3 separate regions of the Homo sapiens genome follow, and all the other regions are linked to region 2. The links are contacts of gene promoters, found by promoter capture Hi-C in blood cells and fetal thymus (Javierre and others, 2016). All regions are on one chromosome and are shown on one strand. The core of a region is centred on a gene start or on the middle of the fragment in contact, and the rest is flanking DNA. Distances in the headings are between cores, read along the strand shown. Region 1 overlaps LOC105373421 (a long non-coding RNA gene). Region 2 holds the start of ADAM17 (ADAM metallopeptidase domain 17). Region 3 has its middle 2.4 kb from the start of TAF1B.

The links. The method cuts DNA at HindIII sites, captures the fragments that hold promoters and counts their contacts. A CHiCAGO score of 5 or more calls a contact.
Region 1: a contact is called between a fragment that was not itself captured here and the fragment with the promoter of ADAM17 in region 2, in 1 of 17 cell types (activated CD4 T cells). The highest score is 6.0, in activated CD4 T cells.
Region 3: a contact is called between a fragment that was not itself captured here and the fragment with the promoter of ADAM17 in region 2, in 1 of 17 cell types (activated CD4 T cells). The highest score is 5.1, in activated CD4 T cells.

The regions. Positions count from the first base shown.
Region 1 is chr2:9,810,530-9,814,172 of GRCh38, reverse strand. The region is part of intron 1 of LOC105373421 (a long non-coding RNA gene); the gene reads left to right. Among named protein-coding and RNA genes, the nearest start is that of TAF1B, 31 kb to the left of the region's middle. The HindIII fragment of the contact is 2,463 bases long and covers 206-2,668 here.
Region 2 is chr2:9,553,801-9,557,695 of GRCh38, reverse strand. ADAM17 (ADAM metallopeptidase domain 17) reads left to right here and starts at 1,866. Exons shown (of 19, transcript NM_003183.6): 1 at 1,866-2,187. The coding sequence starts at 2,091. RefSeq lists silencers at 942-1,236, 1,208-1,427, 1,658-1,947, 2,562-2,856. The HindIII fragment of the contact is 10,331 bases long and covers 1-3,895 here.
Region 3 is chr2:9,839,245-9,842,891 of GRCh38, reverse strand. No RefSeq gene overlaps it. Among named protein-coding and RNA genes, the nearest start is that of TAF1B, 2.4 kb to the left of the region's middle. The HindIII fragment of the contact is 2,580 bases long and covers 502-3,081 here.

The DNA.
Region 1 (3,643 bases), core at 188-2,687, 260 kb before region 2:
GTCCCCATCACTGGGCTGACTGAGCCCCTCATCCTGAAAGGCCAGGGGGCCTTCTTTAGCGAGGCCGTCTCGCTCTCCGGTGTCCCCCTCCGCCCTTGCTGGTTCATCCAGAGGGGCCAGGGCGCTTAGCCCTAAGTGAGGGGTTGACGGCGCCACCTGGTGGCACCGCGCCTCCATCGCGCTGAACGCTGCTGATTCCAAAGCTTCGGGGCTCAGGGTCTCTGATGGGAAGACCTCACTCTTTCAGCCTGTGTGTCCTGGCTTCCCAGGCCATGGCAGTGCTGGGGCACTTAAAGTACCTTTGGGCCTCCACACAGACTTCTAACTCAGGGTGGACAGAGGAGAGAGCATTCTGGAACCTGCTGGGCTGTCCCAACCCCATCCCCTGGGAGTTTCAGCACAGGATGCACTGGGACTGGCCAGGCCTTTGGAGGAAGGGCGTGCCCGGGGGTGAGACCACAGCCCCCACTCGCCACGGCACCCAGGGGTTCCCAGGGAGCCTGGGCAGCCTGTTGGCCAGAGCTTGGGATGGAGGCGTCCCTGGGGAAGGGAGAAGCCAGGCAGCTGGAGTCTTTGCTTCCAGGAGAACCACTGGCAGCCTTCCTGTGGGTGCTGTCCTGGGATCGGGACTGGGCCTGGGTAGCATGCGTCCTGCCAGAGAGGAGATGTGGGCAGAGTTTGGCCAGGCCACTCAGGCATCCCTTTCCTGTGGGCGGGTGGGCTTCCCTTCCTGAGCCCCAGACGTGCGAGATCATTGCCAGGACTTTCTGCCAGCAGCCATGGCAGTGATAGGACACTGAAAGCACCTTTGGGCCCCCACCAGGATGGTGGACAGGGGTCCTTGCCACCCCCTCCTCCCCCACGCTCCCCCCACAGCACTGTCTGTTCCCTGGACGCTGTGCTGAACCTCTGCTCCAGTGCTCGTCTTGGCTCCAGCCTCATAGAATCGCCTTCCCTTTCTTCCCAACCAGCTTCTTCAGCTCGTCTTGGCTCCAGCCTCATAGAATCGCATTCCCTTTCTTCCCAACCAGCTTCTTCAGCTTCTTCTTTCTTCTTCTTCTTCTTCCTCTTCCTCCTCGTCTTCCTCCTCTTCCTCTTCTTCTTCTTCCTTTTTCTGAGATGGAGTTTCACTCTTGTCGCCCAGGCTGGAGTGCAATGGTGCCATCTGGGCTCACCGCAACCTCTGCCTCCCGGGTTCAAGTGATTCTCCTGCCTCAGTCTCCTGAGTAGTTGGAATTACAAGTGCCCGCCACCACGCCCAGCTAGTTTTTGTATTTTTAGTAGAGACGGGGTTTCACCATGTTGGCCAGGCTGGTCTCGAACTCCTGACCTCAAGTGATCCGCCCACCTCTGTGTCCCAAAGTGCTGGGATTACAGGCATGAGCCACCGTGCCTGGCCTTCCATCTAGCTTTGATTCACCTCAACAAACGTTTTCCAATTCCCATGCCCTGGGCCTGGGCGACCTGAATCCGTTCCAGCCCTGTGAGCTTATGGTGATGCTGGAGAAGTCAGGCGGGTAAACAGATCCTATCAGTGAAACTGCCCTTCCCTGAGTCAGCCTAAGCCCCACTTCCTCTAGGAAACCGTCCCTGCCCCACTGTGCACAGTTGGTTTGTTTGAGAGCAGGGAGACGCCCAGCTCCAGTGGGGGCTCAACAATGCTGCCCTAGCCAGGGAGCAGACACCTCACTGCTGCCATGTGTGGAAAGTCAGGGGCAGGGGACTTCTCTGGGGTCTGGTCTGGGCCCCTATGTGTGGCCCCTCGCTAATTTCAGGCCCAAGTGGCTGGGGCAGGCACAGGGCCCTGAGAGTCTGGGGGCAGCTTCTCCGAGCTCTCAGGCTGTGAGGGCCTGAGCGGCCAGCCCTTCTCCAGGGCAGCACTGGGAAGGGTTCACAGGCTTGCCAGGTTAAGGCCCGCCACCTGCGATAATGGCCCGGATTTGGATTCTGCTACTACAAGCATAAACATGTGACAGGAGGAGGCCAACAGCGGCTAACAGAGCAGTGGCGCCCGGAGCATCTGCCGGGAACCAGCAGGACACACAGGAGGGGGACACCGGGGCTCCCGGGGGGAACTGGCCCGGCCGCCGGGGCAGGATAACAGGACTGAAACGGGTCTGCCGGTTCTCTCTGGCCAGCTGCAGGACTTCCCACCCTTTTCCCAGTCAGGGAGTGTGTGATACTGCGCCACTGCCACAGAGCACAGACTGGGGTGGCTGAGACTCCGCCATTTACTCCCTCACAGTTTGGGAGCCAGGAGGTCCAAAATCAAGACAGGGGCAGGGCCAGGCCCTCTGATATTCTGGGCAGAATCCTGCCTGCCTTTCCAGCCGCTGGCCTGGCCGGGAGCCCCCGGTGTCCTGGCCTGCAGCGGCAGTGCCTCGGCCTCTGCCTGTCCCCACGAGGCGTCTCCCTGTGTGTCACTGTCCTCATGTACCATTGTCTTCCTCTTATAAGGACAGTTGTATTGGATGACAGTCCGTCCTAATGGCCTCATCTGAACTTGATTACTCTGCAAAGATTCAGTTTCCAAATAGGTTCACCTTCACAAGTACTGGGGTCAGGACAAAAACATCTCTTTTTGGGGGGCACAATTCAACCCTGAACGGGGGAGAAACTGAGCTTTGGTGAGATGAGGGGCAGAGCCTGGCACTACGAGTTCCAAGCTTGACGTTTCTTTCCAGTCCTGAGTTTTAGCTTAAAAATTCTTGCATTTCTGCATTATTCTCTATTCTGAGTCATGTTTGCTTTAACAGGAAATACAGTATGATTTCTTCAAATCTTTGCCACTTCAACATGAAGAAACGTGTTTATCCTGTGGCTCCAAAATCTTCAATGTGTTTCTGAATTTTCTCAAGGGAATTTCTCCCCAATTAGAAAAGTATAAACCAACCTGGATTCATGTAGTTCTCATAAAAATCCAGGCTAGGCACGATGGCTCAGGCCTGTAATCCCAGCACTTTGGGAGGCTGAGGCAGGTGGATAACCTGAGGTCAGGAGTTCTAGGGCAGCTTGGCCAACATAATGAAACCCCATCTCTACTAAAAATACAAAAATCAGCCAGGCGTGGTGCACGTGCCTGTAATCCCAGCTACTCGGGAGGCTGAGGCTGGAGAAATGTTTGAACTCAGGAGGCGGAGGTTGCAGTGAGCGGAGATCACACCACTGCACGCTAGCCTGGCCGACAGAGCGAGACCCCATCTCATAAAAACAAACAAACAAACAAGCAAACAACAACCCAGTGAAGTATGCATAGTTAACAGAAGAGGAAATCGAGAGGTTAATCTGCTAAGGTCATACCTCATAGGTATAGGATAGGTATACGTAGGGGAGTCCACGTGAGAATTCAGTTCTTTTTTGGCTTATTGATCAGGTTAGGGTTTTGTTTTTTTTTTTGGAGTCTTGCTCTGTCGCCAGGCTGGAGTGCAATGGCACAATCTCGGCTCACTGCAACCCCCGTCTCCTGGGTTCAAGCGATTCTCCTGCCTCAGCCTCCCCAGTAGCTGGGATTACAGGCATGTGCCACCATGCCCAGCAAATTTTTGTATTTTTAGTAGAGACGGGGTTTCATCATGTTGGTCAGGATGGTCTCCTGACCTCGTGATCTGCCCGCCTTGGCCTCCCAAAGTGCTGGGATTATAGG
Region 2 (3,895 bases), core at 617-3,116:
CCAGGCGCGGTGGCTCACGCTTATAATCCTGGCACTTTGGGAGGCCGAGGCGGGTGGATCACCTAAGGTCAGGAGTTTGAGACCAGCCTGGCCAACGTGGTGAAATGCCATCTCTACTAAAAATACAAAAATTAGCTGGGCGTGGTGGCGGGCGCCTGTAATCCCAGTTACTTGGGAGGCTGAGACAGGAGAATCGCTTAAACCTAGGAGGTGTTCAGTCGGTTGTAGTGGGCCAAGATCACGCCATTGCACTCCAGCCTGGGCAATAAGAGCGAAACTCTTTCCCCCACCACCCCCCCCCAAAAAAAAGAAAAGAAAATGGATCGGGATTTTTTTTTTAAACGGCATTTACTAAACAGCTAAGTACCTTCTATGAGCAAGGCACTGTACAAGAGCTGTTGGGGATACCAAAATAATACAATCTACGATCTACTAAAGTTACAAGCCGGACATTATGGTGACTGGATGTTCAGAAAAGAAACCAGATGACATTATTATGGTACACCAAAAAAGCCCCCCAAAAACCGTACTCAACTGTCACATTCTTATGGAATACAATTTTTACAGATTGTATACAATTTGCATGTGAAATTCTGCTTACTTTTTGACTAGGTATGCCACTAATGGGTATGTTTAATAAAGATATTTTATACTTCAGATGTACAGACCAGGTCCGGTTAATTTTAGCCAACAATGTATTGTTGAAAAAGACGCTGATATTTTACTGCGGCAAACCACCATTAACATAAATTTTAACCACAGTTTGAGTATTTTATTAGGAATAAGCCTTGAAACTTGAATAGGACTAGTATTCCTAACAATTTACCGTTTCATAATAAAGGCTGTCTCACTCTTAAGTGGAAAACGTATTATGTCCTACTTTTATAAACTTTGGTTGAACTAAATAAAACAGCAACATGTACCCAACGTTTTTAGACTGTTTTATTCAGTACCATAAACATTCACTAAACTATACAGAGCTAAAATCATGCAAAAGATTGCAAAACAAACTGCCTTGGGAAATTTCCAGTCTAAGCTAAATGGACCAAGTATAGGATTGAATTTTAAGAAGTTGGTGGGAAGATTCCAGCTCTTGTACTCACAGGTAAGGTCCTAGGATTCTATTTGTTGAAGTGTCTGCAGACCCTCTCCCTACAGCAGGGGCGTGGAGCAAATGTGCATTCAGGAAGTGCTTATTAGTCCCCCCAAAACCTTTTTCGTGACGACAGACGGATGGAGGCCTCAGACGACTCCGGCAGTAGGACCCTGAACCAAATGCCTGAGCTGCGCTCGAAAGGCTCGTCTCGCAGGAGCTGGCGAGTGGCACGGGCTTCGGTGGCCGGGCTCGGGGCTCGGGGCTCGGGGCCCGGGGCCGGGGGGGGCGGGGGGTCCGTGCCCAGGGCACTCTGTGGCTCGATTCATGTCCCCGCCCTCCCACCTGAGCACACTGGGCAGAGAGCCTGCGGCATCGGGCCAGTCGCGCCTCCTCGTCCGCCCTGGGCAGGTCGCTGGGCCCCAGGCCGCTTTCTACAGCTCCTTTAATAAAATGGACAGCAGGGGTCCTAACCAGACGTGGGCATCAAGACAAAGGAGGCGGCCAGACGCGCTTGAGGGCCTGCTCGCTAGCTCCCGCCCCCCCATTCCGCGGTCACCCGGGGACAGAGGCCAGGCCGGACTGGGTGGAGTTGGGACTCATACGTCTGCGTCCAGGAAGGCGCCGGGCGAGCCCCAGCTAGACGTGACGGGCGGGGCCGAACACGGCAGCGGACCAGAGGCCCGCGGCGCACCGGCGTGGGGCGGGGCAAGCGGAGCCTCCCGGGATGCCGCGCGGCAGCCGGCTTCCGGCTGTGGGTGGTGCGGGGGACAGCGGCGGCCGGAAGCTGGCTGAGCCGGCCTTTGGTAACGCCACCTGCACTTCTGGGGGCGTCGAGCCTGGCGGTAGAATCTTCCCAGTAGGCGGCGCGGGAGGGAAAAGAGGATTGAGGGGCTAGGCCGGGCGGATCCCGTCCTCCCCCGATGTGAGCAGTTTTCCGAAACCCCGTCAGGCGAAGGCTGCCCAGAGAGGTGGAGTCGGTAGCGGGGCCGGGAACATGAGGCAGTCTCTCCTATTCCTGACCAGCGTGGTTCCTTTCGTGCTGGCGCCGCGACCTCCGGATGACCCGGGCTTCGGCCCCCACCAGAGACTCGGTAAAGACCCAGGGGAGTTGGCTTAGGCCGGCGCCTGGAGCGCTCGTTTGAGGGAAGAGCAGGGGAGCTGGGTCTATCAGGTGTTTGGGGGCGGGGTATTGGCGATGGTGGCGCGTCCCTAAGTTTTCAGTGTAGAAGGGGGTGTGGCTCTCGGAGTTTGGGGAAAGAATAAAGGAGATGGGCCTGTCTCTGAGTGGGAAAGGGCTACTGGACGGGCTCCATGTAGTGACTGAGCGCCTGAGAGGGGTTTGCTCCCTAGCTTTGTGTTCGGGGAGGGTGTTGGGAAAGCGGTAAGGAGTAGGGTGGCTGGATCTTGTTTGGAGAGGGAGATGTGGTCAGGGTTCTTGCCTTAGTAGGGAACAAATCTAGTGTTGTGTGTTCCTACCAGAGCCAGAAAGGAAGGGCCCAAAGCTCCAGAATTCTTCCTGGTCCTCGAAGGAGGGAACTAGAATTTCTGCTGTAGGAGGTACTTATGCAGTAATCTCGTTGGGAGGCGGAGACTGGAGTTGGAGTCTTAAGAGTTGTGTTTTTGCGAACATCCTAAGCACGTTCTTGGTTATTTCAATTGTAGCTTATTGGAGGTGCTTGGGAGATGGGGGGAGGCGGAAACCTGGTAAGCCAACTCGTGATGCTGCCACTATGAATGCTTTCCTTGCACTTTTAAACAAAGAAATTATCAAGAGTGACGAGTTTGATGAATTTAGAGGCTAGAAAGTAGAGGGTTCCTATTTCATTAGATTTTCCAGAGAGATTGGATTTTAAGGATGGAGATGCATTAAGGGATCTGAACTTTGGTGGAAGTAAGTTTGCGTGAACTTTTAGTGTATTTTAAAATCCTTTTATCTTTCAAAAATTGACGTGTAAGATACTTTAATTAGTAATAAAGTGTGAAATAATGTTTTCCCAGTGTGTGAAATTGTAGGCTTGCATGGTTGTACTGGTTCCCAAATTTCACCATGATACCATGTGTAGTATTTTTTTTCTTTATATTTAGTGGACAGAAATTGTAATGGATTGGTATGGATACTAAAGGTGTTGAGAGTGTTATCACTTGAACAGCTGTCTTATGATTCTTTCCGATTGAAATGGATTACAAGTGACTAATGAAAGGCAAGGGATCTTGTTAGGAAGTGCTGAGAAGTGGTAAGTCAGTACAAATTGAAGGACATTTTGAGGTAGGATTGTGGTTAGGATGGAGGGATAGGGTAAGGGTCTTCATTTTAAGGATAAATGTTAGTAAAAAGAATAAATATGTATTTTGAGATATTAAAATTATATTTGCACCACCCTGACACAACTGTTTCACTTATGTTATTAATCTGTTGTTCGTAGGTAAAAATAAGCATGAGTCCCAAGGAAGCATACAGTTTAAAGAGAAACATTACTTTCTAGATCAATTCATAACATTTGCAGATCGTAAGGTTTTTTAGACCATTTTTTTTTTCCAAGACAGAGTCTTGCTCTGTTGCCCAGGCTGGAGTGCAGTGGCGCGATCTCAGCTCACTGCAACCTCCGCCTCCCGGGGTTCAAGCAGTTCACCTGCCTTAGCCTCCTGAGTAGCTGGGATTACAGGCATGTGCCACCACGCCCAGCTAATTTTTGTATTCCTAGTAGAGACGGGGTTTCACCATGTTGGCCAGGCTGGTCTAGAACTCTTGACCTCGTGATCCGCCCACCTGGGCCTCCCTAAGTGCTGGGATTACAGGCA
Region 3 (3,647 bases), core at 542-3,041, 290 kb before region 2:
CAGCCGGGGCAACAAAGCGAGACCCCTTCTCTGCATAAGTAAATAACTGAATAAATAAATGCATGAGTGAATATAATTGAGTCTCAGTAAGTGCTCAATAAATTTAGCTCTTATTGTTTCTTCATCTAACACATTCATTCCTTGTTTTATTTATTAAACAGGAACTGGTTTGTGTCCTGGGGATTCAGCAGTGAACAAAGTAAACAAAAGTCCTTGCCTTCATGGAGATTGTATTCTGATGGGGAGAGACAAAAATAAATAAGGAAAATATGTGGTATGTTAAGTGGTGGTGAGTTCCAAGGAGAAAAATAAAGAGGAGAGGAGAATGGGAACAACAAGGTGATTTCAGTCTGAAATGTGATGTTCAAGAGAGATCTCATTGAGAAGAGGATTTTTGATATAATCGTACATCCCAAGAAGTTAGAAAAAAGATTAAACTGAAAAATAATGGGATGAAGGAAATGTTTAAAAAAGAGAAATTAATAAAAGAGAAAGCAAGCTTCGATAGGCTCCACAAAGGCTTGCTGTGGTGGCTGGTGCCTGTAATCCCATCACTGTGGGAGGCGAAGGCGGGCAGATTGCTGGAGGGCGGGAGTTGGAGACCAGCCTGCCCAACATATTGAGTCCTCATCTCTATAGGCTGGAGTACAATGGTTCAATCTCAGCTCAGTGCAGCCTCCACCTCCCAGGTTCAAGCAATTCTCCTGCCTCAGCCTCCCAAGTAGCTGGGATTATAGGCACGCGCCACGACGCCTGGCGAATTTTTGTATTTTTAGTAGAGACGGGGTTTCACCAGGTTGGCTGGGCTGATCTCGAACTCCTGACCTCAAGTGATCTGCCCACCTCGGCCTCCCAAAGTGCTAGGATTACAGGCGTGAGCCACCACGCCCAGCCTAAAAGATATTTTTTAAGAAGAGAGTCTCAACCAACTAACATTAGCTCTTTGAAAATACTAATACATTCGATAAACTCTGGAAAGATTGATCAAAAAGAAAAGAGCCCAGCTTGGTGATGCACACCTACAGTCCTAGCTACTTGGGAGGATGAGACGGGAGGTTTGCTTGAGCTCAAGGCTGCAGTGAGCTATAATCGGGCCACTGTGCTCCAGTCTGAGCAACGGAGCAAAGAAAATCAAAATAAACTGATATCAGTGGCATCACTAACCAATATGTAGGGGCATCACTGCAAATACCACAGACATTAAAAAGATCATAAGGGCATATTCTGAACAACTCTAGGCCAATAAATGTGAAAATTCCACCAATTTTTTTTTTTAAGACAGTCTTGCTCTTTCACCCAGTCTGGAGTGCAGTGGCACCATCTCAGCCCACTGCAACCTCCGCTTCCCAGGTTCAAGCAATTCTCCTGCCTCAGCCTCCTAAATAGCTGGGACTACAGGCGCCTACCACCACACCTGGCTAAGTTTTGTATTTTTAGTAGAGATGGAGTTTCACCATATTGGCCAGGCTGATCTTGAACTCCTGACCTGCCCACCTCGGCCTCCCAAAGTACTGGGGTTACAGGCATGAGCCACCACGCCTGGCCAAATTCTACCAAATTTTTAAGAAAGAAATAGGCCAGTCATGGTGGCTCACGCCTGTAATCCCACCACTTTAGGAGGCTGAGGCAGGAGAATATTTGAGGCCAGGAGTTCGAGACCAGCCTGACCAACATGACAAAACCTCGTCTCTACTAAAAATACAAAAATTAGCTGGGCATGGTGTTGCACGCCTGTAATCCTAGCTACCTGGGAGGCTGAGGCACAAGAATTGCTTGAACCTGGGAGGCAGAGGTTGCAGTGGGCCAAGATCATGCCATTGCACTCCAGCCTGGTTGATAGAGAGAGACTCTGTCTCAATAATAATAATAATTTTAAAAAGAAATAAATAACACCCATCTTATACAGATGCTTCCAAATAATGAAAAAAGAAGAGCATTTACCAGTACATTTTAGGAGACAAGCATGACCTTGACACCAAAACTTGACAAGGATATTTCAAGAAAAGTCAAAATTAAAAAGCAATTCCTCTCATAAACATACATGCAAAAGTTCCAAACAAAACATCAGTAAATTGAATGTACATCCTGTTGTACTCAGCAATATATAAATAGGATAATAAATCACAGCCAAGTTAGGTTTATTCTAGGAATGCAAGTTTGTTTAACATCGAGCCTGTAATCTCAGCATTTTGGAAGGCCAAGGTGGACAGAACACTTAAGCCCAGGAGTTTGAGATCAGCCTGGGAAACATAATGAGACCTCATTTCTGCAAAAAATTAAAAAATTAGCTGGGTGTGGTGGCACAGTCCAATAGTCCCAGGTACCTAGGAGACTGAGGTGGGAGGATCGGTTGAGGCTGCAGTGAGCTGTGGTCACGCCACTGCATTCCAGCCTACATGACAAAGCAAGACCTTTTCTCAAAATTAAAAAATGTTAAAAGAAAAAGTAGAGAAAAAAGAATAAAGATTTAAAAAATAAATAAAAGAGAAAAAAATAAATCATACAGTAATCTAGTGTGATGCAAGGATAGACCAAAAAATTGACAGAACTGAATAGAAAGTCCAGAAACGGACTCATAAGTACATATAAAATAATCTGATTTACAACAAAGCTGCTACTAAAATTCAGTGAGGAAAGAATAGCTTTTCTCCTTTTTCTTTGTTTCTTTTTTGAGATAGAGTCTTGCTCTGTTGCCCAGGCTGGAGTGCAATGGCACAATCGCGGCTCACTGCAACCTCTGCCACTCAGGTTCAAGCAATTCTCGGGCCTTAGCTTCCCAAGTAGAGGTAGCTGGGACTACAGGCATGTGCCATGACACCTGGCTAATTTTGTATTTTTTAGTAGAGATGGAATTTTGCCATGTTGGCCAGGCTGGTCTCGAACTCATAGCCTCTAGTGATCCACCCACCTCGGCCTCCCAAAGTGCTGGGATTATAGGCGTGAGCTGAAAGAATAGTTTTTCAATAAATGGTTCTGAATCAATCAGACATGCATATGAGAAAATTATTGACCCCTTTCTCACACTGTACACAAAAATTAATTCAAATAGATCCTACATGTGATAGGTAAAACCATAAAGCTTCTAGAAAAAAAAAGTGGTAAATATCTTTATGATTTGGTGTGGAATAGACTTCATCAACAGGGCACAAAAAGCACTACTCCTAAGAGAAAAGGTCATTACACTGGATTTCATTAAATTAAGAACTTCGATTCATCAGAAGACATTGTTAGGCTGAGCACAGTGGCTCACGCCTAGAACCTAGCACTTTCAGAGGCCGAGGTGGGAGGATTGCTTCAGCCCAGAAGTTCAAGATCAGCCTGGGCAACATAGAGAGATCCTATCTCTACAAAATTTTTTTAAAACTTAGTTGGGTGTGGTGGGCATGCCTGTAGTTCCAGCTACTCAGGAGGCTGGGTCGGGGGGATTGCTTCAGCCCGGGAAGTCAAGGCTGCAGTGAGCTGTGATCATGACACTTCCCTCCAGCCTGGGTGACAGAGACCCTGTCTTTAAAAAAAATTAAAAAAAAAAAGACATAATTAAAGCAAACTAAAAACTGAGAGAAGAAATTCACAATACATATTCGACAAGACATGTAACAAAGGTTTCCTACCGATCTATTAAGAAATAATAAACAATCCAGTTAAAA